2 separate regions of the Homo sapiens genome follow, and region 2 is linked to region 1. The links are contacts of gene promoters, found by promoter capture Hi-C in human tissues and cell types (Jung and others, 2019). All regions are on one chromosome and are shown on one strand. The core of a region is centred on a gene start or on the middle of the fragment in contact, and the rest is flanking DNA. Distances in the headings are between cores, read along the strand shown.

Region 1 (6,714 bases), core at 1,345-3,844:
AAGCTCCGTGTATACCCTGAGGTCACCACCGCTCGATCTAAATGTGCAGTTGTGTCCTTAAATATGCAGTCTTCACCCAGAGTAAAGTGTTGATCGCAAGAGTCCAGTGTCGTGCCCTCAGCCAGTTCTTGGCCACCACAATGGGAGCAGCCCTGGCCGAGTTGTCTCTGTGGTTTCTATGCAGCCCTTCTTGGCGAAATTCCTGCGATCTTATAGATTCTAATGAGCTCTTGGAAGACATTGTCATAAAAGCCAGTGATTTTAAGAAAAAGAGTGGTTCTGGAATCAATGTTTTCCAGTCCCATCCCAGAACATCAGTTGTAAGATAAGTACAATTGGTTGTCCTTGATTTCATAAGTAGAACAAACACTAAATGTGCCTCTGAGATGGCCACCCCGGGCAGGGACCTGTGCCTTCCGCCGATGCTCAGGGCTCCCTCTGGCTCCCGGGTCACTCTTGTGGCCCCAGTGGGTGGTCCCTGCAGTCATGGCCTGAGTGCGCAGGGGCCACCGCGTGGCTGCTGCTGTCCTCCTCCGGGACCCACGGGGACCAAGGTCACACGTTCCGTGCTGTGAAGCTGTCCAGATGTGCCTCTTTGGCTGGGGGTTCTGGTGGACGTTTCAAGTGGCATTTTGTACAATGCAGGTTAGAATTCAGGAATTTCAAGTATGTGCCCGGGTCTGTCAGGTCCCAGTTGCCTTTCTGACGGCCCCCCTCAGAGGGACGGCGATGAGCACTAAATGCTTTTTTGACTATTTTCCTATAGATTTTTTTTAAAACTTTTTTTTCCTCCTGTTCCAATTGATAGCTTTCTTATTTAATAAATTCTGTAGTTCACCGCACTGTCTCTTCTCTGCTGACTTAGCCAGTCCTTGGAGAACGCCGTGGGCTTCCACACCTCACTTGCTCTTGCCCTAACTGGTGCCTTGTGCTGGCAGATTCTCTCCAGGTCCTCAGCCCTTGGGGTTAGGGGCAGACTCAGACCACTGCTGCCTGGGCCTGACCACTGGGACCCACACGTGATGGACGTGTGAGTCACGCAGCTGCACGTTTCAGAGCTGGACAGACTGGATTCTAGCATTGGATCATCTTTTCGGATCATGTGGTTGAATTTTTCAAACAAGGCGTCTGAATTGCTAGACCCCTAGCCTTAGCTACAGGTGAAGGCCAGAGCTTTCCAGCAGTCACTGTGGAGCGGTCCTGCTGCGTAGCCCTATGCGCCTCCTGCTCCTGCTGGTTGGTGAAAGCAGGCTCTGGATTCTGTTGGCAGAGCTGACTTGAGACAGGGTGCTGTGGTTGGGAAGTGCCGGAATGAGGTTCTGAGTGTATAGGCAGCTCTGGGAGCCCTGTAGCAGCAGGATGGGGGCATCTGGGGAGGATGCCTCAGGCCACAGGCCTTCCCTGAGGCCCTTTGGGAGAGACAGCATTTGATGGGGTGGGGGTCACAAAGGCCAGATCGCCAGGCGGGTCCCATCCACCAGATGCGTGTGAAGTGGGGTGGTCCCCTGGCCCTCATGCCAGCAGCTCATGGAGCAGGTGGGGCCCAGGGAAGCGCGGTGGGGATGGGCATGTGGGTTTTGCGCACCCCTCTCTTTTGATGTCTGTGTTTGAAGCGTTTGATAGTAAGAAGTTTAAAAATACAATTTGTGGCGCGGTATTTAGTGCCTGCCTTCTGCCTCCAGATTTCAAGCCCGATGCAGGGACTGAAACGAGGCGCTCGAGGAGCCCCCAGCCGCCTGGTTCCATCCCCTCCATCTGTTTCTTGCCAATCCCTAGCTCCCAGTTTGGCCTCACCTGGGCCTAGCCCTTTGCCACCAAAAGCCCACCTCCTAGGTAGGCAGGGCAAACCCTCTTTATAGTTCTCCAGCTGATGCCCCTAGCTCACCCCAGGCTGGAGTGGAGGCCCCCTCAACTGGCTGGGCCCAGGATGTCTTTGCAGCACCGATACTTAGAAGCTCTCAGGAGCCAGGAACTGTAGGCCCCTGCCCAGCTCCCGGCCGAGTTAGCCCTGGCACGTTCCTGAAGGAATGAATGCCCACTTAGGGGAGGGCCCCGGGGCAGCTCTCCAGGCCAGGAGACCCCAGAGGGTGTGCACAGGTGACCAGGGAAGCGAGTTTGTGTGGTGCGGGCCCCCACCCTCTGGCCTCAGTCTCCTGCACGTGCCTGGAGATCGGCCTGGCCTCGGCGATCCTGAGCATGCAGGGCAGGCTGGGGAAAAAGCCTTTCACGTAGACTTTCTCATCCGTTGCTTAACCAAACCCCAACATGTCCGTTAACAGAGGATGAAACAAGCACAGAGAGGTCCAGCGATGGCCGAAGGTCACAGCCAGTAAGGGCCGGTCTTCCGGATCGTGACCAGGTGGCCGGGTGCCTGTCCCTGTCTGTCCCCTGCCTTGAGGTCCCGCGTCCACCCGCGCCCCTCCAGAGCGCGCGGAGGCGGCCCCCAGGGCGGCCGCGCGAGGGCAGCATCGAGCCGTTCGCCTCTCTAGTCCCGGCAGGCCGCAGCGGCCGTCCCGGCGTGCCCCGCGCCTCAGGAGGCGGGACTTCCGGCGCGCGGCGCTCTTGTTCTGCAGCCGCCGGAAGCGTCGAGTCTGCAGTCGCCCGGGCGACGGCGGGGTCCGCGCGGCCAGGTAAGGTGTGCGCCCAGCAGGTGAGGCGCGGGTGGCGTCGGCAGCTTCAGGGCTCTCCCCGTGGAGGGGGCGCTGTCCCGAGGAGCGGATAGCCGAGGCCCGGGACGGGGGCGGGGCAGCGCCCAAAGTCGGGGAAACTGAGGCCCGGCGTGGCCCCCGTCCGGCCGAGCCTGGGCGCGCGGGGATTCTGGCCCTGGGAGCCCCTCGGCTGGGAGCGGGCTGCGGGCTCCGAGGAGGCTCCGGCGGGGCGGCCCCGGCTGCAGGGCGCCCGCGTGCGTCTCGGGGACTGCGCCGGCGATTCCGCGGTGGCCGAGCCTCGGAGGGGGTTTCCCCAGTTCACGCAGCGAGCAGGAGGCGGAACTGGGCCTGGGCCGGGTCTGTCTCCCAAGCCAGTGCCTAAACGCCCATCGTCCTGGCGCATCCTGGGGTTCCCTGGGCCCAGCCGAGTCTGGGTGGCGTCCCCGCAGCTGGGGCTGGAGGGACCGCCTGCTGCGCTCCGTCTTGGTGGGCAGCCCTCATGACCAGCCCTTGGGAGAGGGGTGCGGGGAGAGGGACAGCCCCTGATGTCAGTGGCTCAGCACGTGTGACTTTGACCTCCTTCCTGCTGATCATTGCTCACCTGAGCGACACGGGGAGGGGGAGGCAGCAGCCTCGTGTGAGGCTTCCAGAGGAAAGCGTCTCCGCCGGCCCGGAGGCGCTGAACCAGCCTGCGGTCGCTGCCAGCTCTGCCTCTGGCCGGCTGTTAACTGAGTTTACAGGTTCACAAGCATTTCGGGCATAAACAAGGGGCTTTGTGAAGGAGTGAGGGGACCTGGGCTGCTGATGCGGCTAACGGTGCTCGCGGGTGGATGCTTTGGTTTTGTTCCAGTTGGGCAGGGCCCCAGTCAGCCTCCAGCAGGGAGAGCCACGCCAAGGACGGGGGAGGGCGTTTCTCTTTGTTGTTGGGTGTTTTGGGCTCCCGGGTCTGTGCTAGTGATTCCTTTAGATTTTCTCTGCTAATGTTTCATTCTCCCACTCTCTCTCTAGCGTCCTTCTCCCTTCAGACTTCCTGGACCACAGTTCCTAAGAAAAAAGCTTGACAAACATTTGTTAGTGTCAGGCACTGCCACGTTCCAGGCGTTGTTCTGGATGTACAGAGAACAGCCAGCCTTCCCTTTGGGAGCTTCCTTCCCAACCATGCTGTTAGTGCCTGCCACCTGGGCAGTCTCAGTGTGTGTCTCTGTGAACGTTTCTCAAATGCCCTCTGTGGTCCGGCTCTGTGTCATGGGAGAGCAGGATGGCCAAAGTGGGTCACGGGCTGTGTCCTTGCCCTGTAGTGACTTTGCCACTGCACCCCACACCTTCTACGCTGGGTGGCCAGTTTCCATGTGGCTTGGTGTGGGAGCAGAGACGGGACAGTGGGGCCTGTCCTTGTTCATCCACTCCCTGCCTGTGCTGGTTGCAGCCTCAGAGCAGGCGGGAGATGTTCTTGGGGCTTAGGCTCCTGGCAGAGCACATAGCAGGAGTTTGTGGGGTCTGAGGTTCCTGTCCCAGGGTTCCCCGATTCTGTGCCTGGCCTATTAATCTTTCTCTGGGGAGCCCAGTGCCCACTGCCGAGCAGGCTCCTGCCATCCCCCATGGGCGGGTGTGTCTGAAGGAGAATGGGATCCCGGCACGGTCTTGGTTTCTAACATCTCGGGGTGTGTTTTGGAGGCAGGCGGGAGTCATGGATGTAGATGCTGAAAGAGAGAAGATAACACAGGAGATCAAGGAGCTGGAAAGGATTTTGGATCCCGGCTCCTCGGGCTCCCACGTGGAGATCTCAGAATCAAGTCTCGAGTCAGATTCTGAAGCAGGTAAGCCCCTTGTACCTAGCCTCCTGGGGTCCTGGTAAGAACAGCTGGTCTGCCTCCTGGGTTCCTCTCAGGCACATTAGGGAGTGATGGTAGCCGGGTGTGGTTTCTCAGGCCTGTAAACCCAGGGACTCCTGAGGCTGAGGTGAGAGCATTGTTTGATCCCAGGAGTTCATGTCCAGCCTGGACAACGCAGCAAGACCCTGTCTCTAAAAATAATAATAATAATAATAAACGATGGCTGGTGCTGCTTGGACCAGACCCAATTTTTTGCCAACACTGGTGTCTTTCTGTACTCCAGCCAGAGAGCTTCTGACAATTCCTCCTTTGCTAGCCCCTGAACCAGCTGGCTGTGTGTGTACACTGGGCTCTAGGCATCCCAGGGTCTGGGCCTGGCCTCCTTGGGCCTGTGCAGGGCTTCTGGAGTGGACCATCCTGGGAGGAGGGGGCAGGCCTGAACCTCACCAGATGGCAGTCTGGACAGTCCATGCCTGGATGGTCAACACAGCTCACACCCCTAGGATCTCTTCTTCTCACATGTGCCCCTCCCCACGTGCTCCCCACCCCAAGTGCTCTCCTCCCCACGTGCTCCCCACCCCACGTGCTCCCCACCCCACGTGCTCCCCTCCCCACGTGCTCCCCTCCCCACGTGCTCCCCTCCCCACGTGCTCCCCACCCCACGTGCTCCCCTCCCCATGTGCTCCCCACCCCATAGGCTCCCCACCCCACAGCCTCTCCTCCCAACATGCTCCCCTCCCCACATGCTCTCCTCCATGCTCCCTTTAGCTTCTGAGCCTACCCCAACCCCACCAGCTGCTGCCCTGACAGGAGACCCCCCCAGCCTTGCTTCCCACCTCTCCCAGACCCAGGGCCTGCCTCTGAGGCAACCTGCTATCTTTCTCCTGTGGTGAGGGCCTCTACATCCGTGCCTCCCATCTGACCGGCTAAGCTCCTGAAGGAGAGGTCCGTTTTCTGCTAAACTTTCCCTGTCTCTCCAGTAAAGATAGCTTGTGCCATCCAGTGAACCCTGTGTAGCTTTGTCCTGTGTGCCTGGAGGTCCCCAGTGTGTGGTCAGAGTTTTCTCTATCTGGCTAACCCGGCCTTGGTCCAGTGCCCACCCCGCTGTCAGGGAGGGAAGGTCCGCTCACCGCCAGCCTCAGCCTGAGGCGCTGTCACTACCTCACAACCCCAGGTCTGCCCAAGAAGCAGTGGTGAGCTGCGCCCCCACCCTGCCCAAGACGCTGGTTACCAACACGGTGTTGCTTGTGTTTCTGACAGATTCACTGCCTTCTGAGGACTTGGATCCTGCCGATCCCCCGATCTCGGTAACTGTTGGCCTGATCTGGCTGTGCCACTGGGTCAGGCCTGCCACCACCTTCCAAAGTAGCCTGGGAGGGGGCGTGGTTTGAACCCATATTGGTTTTTCTGCATTATAAAAATGATTCACGTTTGTTATAAAAAAATTAAAAAGCATTTGTCATTGAAATTGTCCCCAGAAATAACCACTGTTAACAGCTTGGTGATCACACCCCTTGGGTTTTTTCTGAGCTCATTGCTGTATGCCTCTGTCTCCTGTGTGGCATCTGTCACTTGCGGAAAGCTGTGAGTTGTGCACCTGCGTCCTGCCCCTCACAGCTCGCCTCTCTGTGCCTCAGATTCCTGTGGGGCAGCGGGGACGTTTACAGCACAAGTCAGTTAACACGAGCAGCTATACAGAAATTAGCTGGTGCAGTGGCACGTGGCTGTGGACGCAGCTACTTGGGTGGCTGAGGCAGGAGGATCACTTGAGCCCAGGAGGCCGAGGCTCCAGTGAGCTGTGATTGCACCACTGCACTCCAGCCTGGGTGATGGAGTGAGACCCTGTCTCAAAAAAAAGAAAAATACACAAGCACCCAAACAGCACCTGGCAACTGCTCTGTGAGGCCAGTGATTATTTTATTAGCTGCCTTTTGTTTACTTTGGAAAACGTTGGCGATTTGCTGCTTCCTTTTTCTGCAAAGTTAGTGGGTACTGAGTTTCCTCATGTTTGCGTGGCTGTGTGGTTCACCTTCTGTGAGTGAGCACCCTGCTGTAGCCTGTGGGCACCTCACCTCCCAGTGGGCATTTTCACTGCGTCCACTTCCTGGCTCTGCAGAGACTTTCCTCCCACACAGGCTTGCTCCCCGTGCTTTGCTGGTGATGCACACGACAGGGGCTCAGGACAGAGTTCAGGGTTCACAGGACGCCTGTGGTCCTGGAAAGCTGCCTGCTGC
Region 2 (6,714 bases), core at 2,240-4,739, 62 kb before region 1:
AGAGATGGGGTTTTGCCATGTTGGCCAGGCTGGTCTCAAACTCCTGACCTCAAGTGATCCATCCTCCTCGGTCTCCCAAAATGCTTGGATTAGAGTGTGAGTCACTGTGCCCGGCCTTACTTTCTTAAAGTATTGTTTCAGTTAACATTTTTTCATTTCTTTTTTTTTAAGAGACAGAGTCTCACTCTGTCACCCAGGCTGGAGTGCAGTGGCACGGTCATGGTCTCTGTCTCCTGGGTTCAGGTGGCCCTCCTGCCTTGGATCCTTTCAAAGTGCTGGGATTACAGGCATGCACCACTATGCCTGGCTCCTTATTTTCTTTTTTGCTTGAGGTGTTTTGCTGTCCTTTTTGCTGGGTGCTGTGTGGTCATCGCAGTCTGAATTTGATTTTGTGAAAATGGAAGAGCTCGGGAGTGGGCCAGGCCTGGGAGGATTACGCACCGTGGCAGGAGCCTCAGGGCGGCTCATGAGGGTGTTGCGGGAGCTTTCTCAGTGTACAAGGGAACAGCTTTCATGCTTAATGATTCAGACATTTTTCTTTTCCTGACGTATGCTGAAGTTCTACTTTTAAGTATGATATTAAACAATTACCGACTTTTGAGTTGGAAGTCTGTCGTGATAAATCTAACCTGTGATTTAAGCTGTGTGAGCACATTGAAAATCTAGGCTCAGAAGCATCAGTGACAAGCTGATTGTTTCTTTTTCAATTTATTTTAAATGCAGTTTCATCAAGACCAACTTCTCCTGAAAAATTTTCAGTGCCTCATGTCTGTGCCAGGTTTGGCCCTGGCGGTCAGCTTATCAAAGTGATTCCCAATCTGCCTTCAGAAGGACAGCCGGCCTTGGTGGAGGTCCACAGCATGGAGGTAATGGCACACGCAGAAGCGTGGCGTCACTGCTCTGCTGCCCTGGGGAACTCTCTGCTTTGCAGTTTGTCATCTTCAATTGTCAGACCTTGTCTCTGGACATACGTCCTTGGAAAATGTTTATTCCTGTGAATTTTCAATTTGTAGGGTTTTTCTTCTATTTGATCATATATTTTTCCTCCTAGAAGTCAGTATTGTAAGCGTCTGCCTTGGGTGTTCAACGTGGTTTGATTGTATATGCATTTTCTGTCCTCGTTTTGGGGATGTTTGCTTTATTGGTGCTTTTCAATGATAGATGCAGTGGGTGGGCCCGGTGCTGCCCAGGTGAGGGGGGCGGGTGGGGTGGACGTGCACGGCGCTGCCGAGGTGACGGGGGCTGGCATGCGCCTCTTCCTGCAGCTTCTGCAGGCTTCTGTCACATGTATTGGGGTTCTGCCTCAGTATTTGGGGAGAGAAAATGGATTTCACTACTTAAAATAAAGTTTGAAATCATGGCTGTGGTCCACACAGGCCATGTTCCATGTAACAGCCTCGACAGAGCCTTCACCTGCTGTGGGGCGGGGCAGGTGGGCCATGCCATCCTCTCCTCTCACGGGCAGCATCCGTGCCTGGGTTGGCCGGCCTGCCAGCAGGGTGGCTGCGCACTGGCTGCCACTGACCCACGGCCCTCTCCTCGTAGGCCTTGCTGCAGCACACGTCTGAGCAGGAGGAGATGCGGGCGTTCCCGGGACCCCTGGCCAAGTATGTTCCTTGTTGAGGCATTTCTTTGTGAGCCCGGCCTTGCAGACATCACTGCTCACTGTGTGTTCTTTCTGCAGAGACGACACCCATAAGGTGGATGTCATTAATTTTGCACAGAACAAAGCTATGAAATGTTTGCAGAATGAAAACTTAATTGACAAAGAGTCTGCAAGTCTTCTTTGGAATTTTATTGTTCTCTTATGCAGACAAAATGGGGTATGTTTCTTTCTACTTCTAGAGTGTTTCTTCTTGCTGGTCTTCATTTCGTCTTGGGAATGCTCAGCCTCCCGAAGGAGCAGGGCGGGATCCGCGTGGCCAGCTATGGGAGCCTCGAGGGCCCCCTTAGGAAGCACACTGTAGTGGCTGGGTAGGGAGGGAGAGGGAACGTGCGGTTGGGATGGGATGAGGTTTCAGCCCAGCCTTGCCAGCCTTTCGGGTAGTTGTGGGTCTGGCTGTGTCCAGGGTGGGGCTTTGTGCCTGTGGTGGTCCAACGCGTCCTCACCTGAGAGCCGTTGTTCTCCTTCCTGTTCCTGTTGACCCAAACAGACCGTGGTAGGGACCGACATTGCGGAGCTTCTGTTACGAGACCACAGAACAGTGTGGCTTCCTGGGAAGTCGCCCAATGAAGCAAACCTGATTGATTTCACGAATGAGGCAGTGGAGCAGGTGGAAGAGGAGGAGTCTGGTGAGGCCCAGCTCTCTTTCCTCACTGGTGGTCCGGCGGCTGCCGCCAGCTCGCTCGAGAGAGAGACCGAGAGGTTCAGGGAGCTGTTGCTGTATGGCCGTAAGAAGGTGCGCCTCCTCATCATGGCACCTGGCGCCTGCACATGTCCACTGGGTCGGGCCTGGTGCGGGGTTGCAGCCTTCAGGGAGGGACGTGGCCCCCTCTTGGGAGCATCCGCGCTGCAGTGTGGGGCTTCGGGTCTTGCTGTTTCCTGAACAATGCCTGACTCTTGTATGCCATCCTTCTGGAGGTGTTAATGTTGGTTTCCTTCTAACTGTTTCCAGTGTTGGAGACCTGCAGATTAAATTTTCAGTTATTCGATAAATGCACATGTTGAGCACAGGCCGTGCCCCTGCTGTGTGTGCCAAATCTCGGATGAAATGTGCATGACACAAGTTGTGGCATTCTCACAAAGTCAGACTCGAGTCCACAGCCCAGAAGTCATTGGGAGTTGGGAGGGCACACTGAACCTGTCAGAGGCGCAGTGCATGGAAAGGCCATGGGCAAGAGAGCAGCCAGTGCGTGTAGCGTCCAGTGACTGGGGTCACAGCAGCGTGGGGACTGGGGCAGGTGGGGGGCCTGAGACAGGAGCCTGCTCTGGGACAGTGGGGTTGGGGGGTCCATAGTGACTGCAGCAGTGACACTATGTGCACAGGAGGGGCTGTCTAGGGTGCATGATGTTTGCTTTGGATGTGCTAAGCAGGAGAGAGGCCAGTCTCAGAAGCATGTGTGGCCCTGAACAGCAGAGACATGGGATAGGCTGAGAGTTTTCTGTCCTTTTATATCATGATAAACTCAGAAAGGGCATATTTGACCAGTATTTTTATTTTTTTATTTTTAATTTTTTTTGAGACAGGGTCTCACTCTTGCCCAGGCTGGAGTGCAGTGGCGTGATCACAGCTTAATGTGGCCTCGACCTCCTGGGTTCAAGTGATCCTCCCATCTCAGCCTCCTGAGTAGCTGGGACTACAGCTGCATGCCACCACGCCTGGCTAACTTTTTTTTTTTTTTTGTAGAGACGGGGTTTCACCATGTTGCCAGGCTGGTCTCGAATTCCTGGGCTCAAGCAATCCGCCCACCTTGGCCTCCCAAAGTGCTGGGATTATAGGCATGAGCCACCGCGCCCGGCCTGATCAGTATGAGTCTATTATGGATGTTTTATAACTGATTGAAGTCATGTAACCTGTTAGCTTTTATTAACATCTTTCTCTACTGTAACGTTTTTGCCTCCCAGCCAGAAGTTCTAAATTATGCCCTGGATGATTTTGGTGAAAGGGGAGGCTGCCTTACTGGAGTCACTCTCCGTGTTGACAGGATATTCGCGGAGGCCTCCTGTTAGAACTGGGGAGTTGACTCGAGCGTGTTTCCCAGTGGATGGGGCGGCGTGGTGGGCAGCGCTGCGTGATTAGCCCTGTTTGTGATTAGCGTGCTTGTGTTTTATGCTGAAAATGGATAAAAGCAGCAAATATCTACAAATACCCACTACCACAGGGACTTTGAAACTCAGGAAAATAATGAATCGCTACGTGTCTTTAGTCTCCAAATGGTGAATAAGTGTGTTTTTGAGGCCTTTGGGTTGTTTGTGTATCTGCTGCTGCGTGAGGACACATGGCCTGTCTTGACTCATGTCACGTGAGCGCCGCCGATAACCCACCAAGGTCCCTGAAATGCCTTTTGCAGGATGCTTTGGAGTCTGCAATGAAGAATGGCCTGTGGGGTCACGCTCTGCTACTTGCAAGTAAGATGGACAGCCGGACACACGCCCGAGTCATGACCAGGTACAGTCCCACAGTGGCCTGGTCCAGTGGCGAGCCCTGCTGGCTCCCTGTAGCACGCGGCGTCCGCACCCTGGGGGCAGGCGGCAGGCGGATCTCACTTGACTGTGCTGTGCTCCCACACGAACTCGGGCTTCCTTGGCCTCGAGGCTTCCTTGGGTCGTGTTGTGGAGAGCTTAAAAAGTTTTTAATTAACTGCATGGTTTTTAGTACTTCATGTAAAATCTCAGTGAATTCCTCAGTCTTCATCTTTTATAGCTTTTTTTAAATTTTGAGTTTTGCTCTGTTGCCCAGGCTGAAGTGCAGGGGCGCGATCTCAGCTCACCGCAACCCCTGCCTCCCAGGTTCAAGTGATCCTCACGCCTTGGCCTCCCAAGTAGTTGAGACCACAGGCACCCACCACCACACCCAGCTAATTTTTTGTATTTTTAGTAGAGGTGGGTTTTGCCATGTTGGCCAGGCCGGTCTCAAAACTCCTAGCCTCAAGGGATCTGCCCGCCTTGGCCTTCTGAAAGTGCTGGGATTACAGGCGTGAGCCACCATACCTGGCCTTATCTTTTACAGCTTTTTTTTTTTTTTTAATATTGAGATAAGAAAGAAAAATAAAATATTGAGATGTGTGTACTTTGCCTAAGTGAAATATAAGTCTAATCATTACATCAGAGGGCTTAGGGCTGATTTTTTAAAAAATTTATTTTATTACTATTTTATTTATTTATTTTTTTGAGACAGAGTCTTGCTCTGTCACCCAGGCTAGAGTGCAGTGGCACGATCCCAGCTCACTGCAACCTCTGCCTCCTGGGTTCAAGCGATTCTCCTGCCTCAGTCTCCTGAGTAGCTGGGATTATAGGTGTGCACCACCACACCCGGCTAATTTTTGTATTTTTAGTAGAGATGGGGTTTCTCCATGTTAGTCTCTTAACTTCTGACCTCAGGTGATCCGCCCACTTTGGCCTCCCAAAGTGCTGGGATTACAGGCGTGAGCCATCATGTCCGGCCGGCTTTTTTCTTTTAGCTGAGCCAGCATGGGGTCTTTCTGTGTTTATGTCTGCCTAGGTTTGCTAACAGCCTCCCAATCAACGACCCTCTGCAGACAGTCTACCAGCTCATGTCCGGACGGATGCCTGCCGCGTCCACGGTGAGTGGCACTGCCTGGTGGCTTGCACAGGCTCCACTGCCTGTGTGGAGTTTGCTCGTGGGTGACGCTGTCACAGGCCGTGAGGTGCCTGGTGAGCCCAGCTGTGTGGAATTGAAATGGCGCTGGCTTCCGGGGATGAGGCTTCGTTTTGTTTTTCCTCATGTTAGTGCTGTGGAGACGAGAAATGGGGAGATTGGAGGCCGCACCTCGCCATGGTCTTGTCCAACTTGAACAACAACATGGACGTCGAGTCCAGGACGATGGCTACCATGGGCGACACTCTGGGTAGGTCAGGGGTGGAGATGGGCATTGGGTGTCGCGGATGGAGCGCCGAAGGCCCGGTTGTCTGTGGCGTTGGCAGAAATCACCAGAACCCGGCCTTCTCGGTCCGGCTGGCGTCTCTGGTGCCTTCTGTGCGCGTCCTTGACTTCTGCAAGCGCTCCCGGTCGCTGAGCCCCCGCCGTGTGTCGTGTCGTCTCTCCGCAGCTTCAAGGGGCCTCTTGGATGCGGCCCACTTCTGCTACCTCATGGCCCAGGCGGGATTTGGTGTTTACACGAAGAAAACTACAAAGCTTGTCTTAATCGGATCCAATCACAGGTAAAGAACCAAGTCAGTGTAGTCCTGTAAGTTTTCCTTTCAAAGTAAAACAAAATCCTTCTCCTTTAGTGAATTCAGAAATGGCCAGAATCATGTCTTTATTTGTCACGTGGTGGGACACACTTCTGGATGATTTGCTCCAAGGTTGACTATGCCAATAATTGGCCATTTTTTCCAAATCAAAATAATTCACTTCCTCTACAGTTTGCCATTCTTAAAGTTCGCAACCAACGAAGCAATCCAGAGGACGGAAGCCTATGAGTACGCCCAGTCCCTGGGTGCCGAGACCTGCCCCCTGCCTAGTTTCCAGGTAAGCAGGTGCTGCCAGCCTGCAGCTGTCATGGCTGGGCAGGCACTCAGTGCTAACAAGCTTTTGGCTACTTAGATTGTTTGAATTGGTATCGAAAAAAATGATGTGAGTTTTTTGGGGGAGGATCTTGAGAAGACATTTGATCTAAAATGCTAAGAAACAAGATCCCATTGAATTGAGGCTTTCCGTTTGCATTTGATTTCAATTATTTTCATGAGCTTTTTTTTTAAGGGAGACAGGGTCTCACTCTGTTGCCCAGGCTGGAGTGCACTGTTTTGATCACTCCCAGGCTCAAGTGATTCACCTCAGCCTCCAGAGTAGCTGGGACTACAAGCAGCACTACCATGCCACACTAATTTTTTTTATTTTTTGTAGAAAAAAACTGTGTTGCCCAGACTGATCCTAAACTCCTGGGCTCAAGCAGTCATCCTCTCAGCCTCCCAGAGTGTTGGGATTACAGGCGTGAGCCACCGCACCTAGCCTGTATGAGCTTTTTTTTTTTTTTTGAGACCGAGTCTCGCTCTGTCACCCAGACTAGAGTGCAGTGGCACGATCTCCGCTC

Evidence for each region. Contacts are between HindIII fragments. The study calls those that stand out against the background at their distance.
Region 2: a fragment that was not itself captured here is called in contact with the fragment with the promoter of SNAPC4 in region 1 in 2 of the 25 tissues and cell types used here (H1 embryonic stem cells and pancreas).

What each region holds. Positions count from the first base shown.
Region 1 is chr9:136,396,050-136,402,763 of GRCh38, reverse strand. SNAPC4 (small nuclear RNA activating complex polypeptide 4) reads left to right here and starts at 2,594. Exons shown (of 24, transcript NM_003086.4): 1 at 2,594-2,630; 2 at 4,327-4,465; 3 at 5,741-5,787. The coding sequence starts at 4,336. It overlaps ENTR1 (endosome associated trafficking regulator 1), which reads left to right. Exons shown (of 10, transcript NM_001039707.2): 10 at 1-842. RefSeq lists silencers at 2,147-2,196, 2,347-2,556, 2,627-2,756, 2,827-2,936 and enhancers at 1,445-2,381, 4,111-5,310. The HindIII fragment of the contact is 18,374 bases long and covers 287-6,714 here.
Region 2 is chr9:136,458,572-136,465,285 of GRCh38, reverse strand. It overlaps SEC16A (SEC16 homolog A, endoplasmic reticulum export factor), which reads left to right. Exons shown (of 32, transcript NM_014866.2): 9 at 724-866; 10 at 1,546-1,607; 11 at 1,685-1,823; 12 at 2,154-2,399; 13 at 4,012-4,109; 14 at 5,163-5,244; 15 at 5,412-5,529; 16 at 5,731-5,842; 17 at 6,047-6,152. Among named protein-coding and RNA genes, the nearest start is that of SEC16A, 21 kb to the left of the region's middle. The HindIII fragment of the contact is 9,536 bases long and covers 1-6,714 here.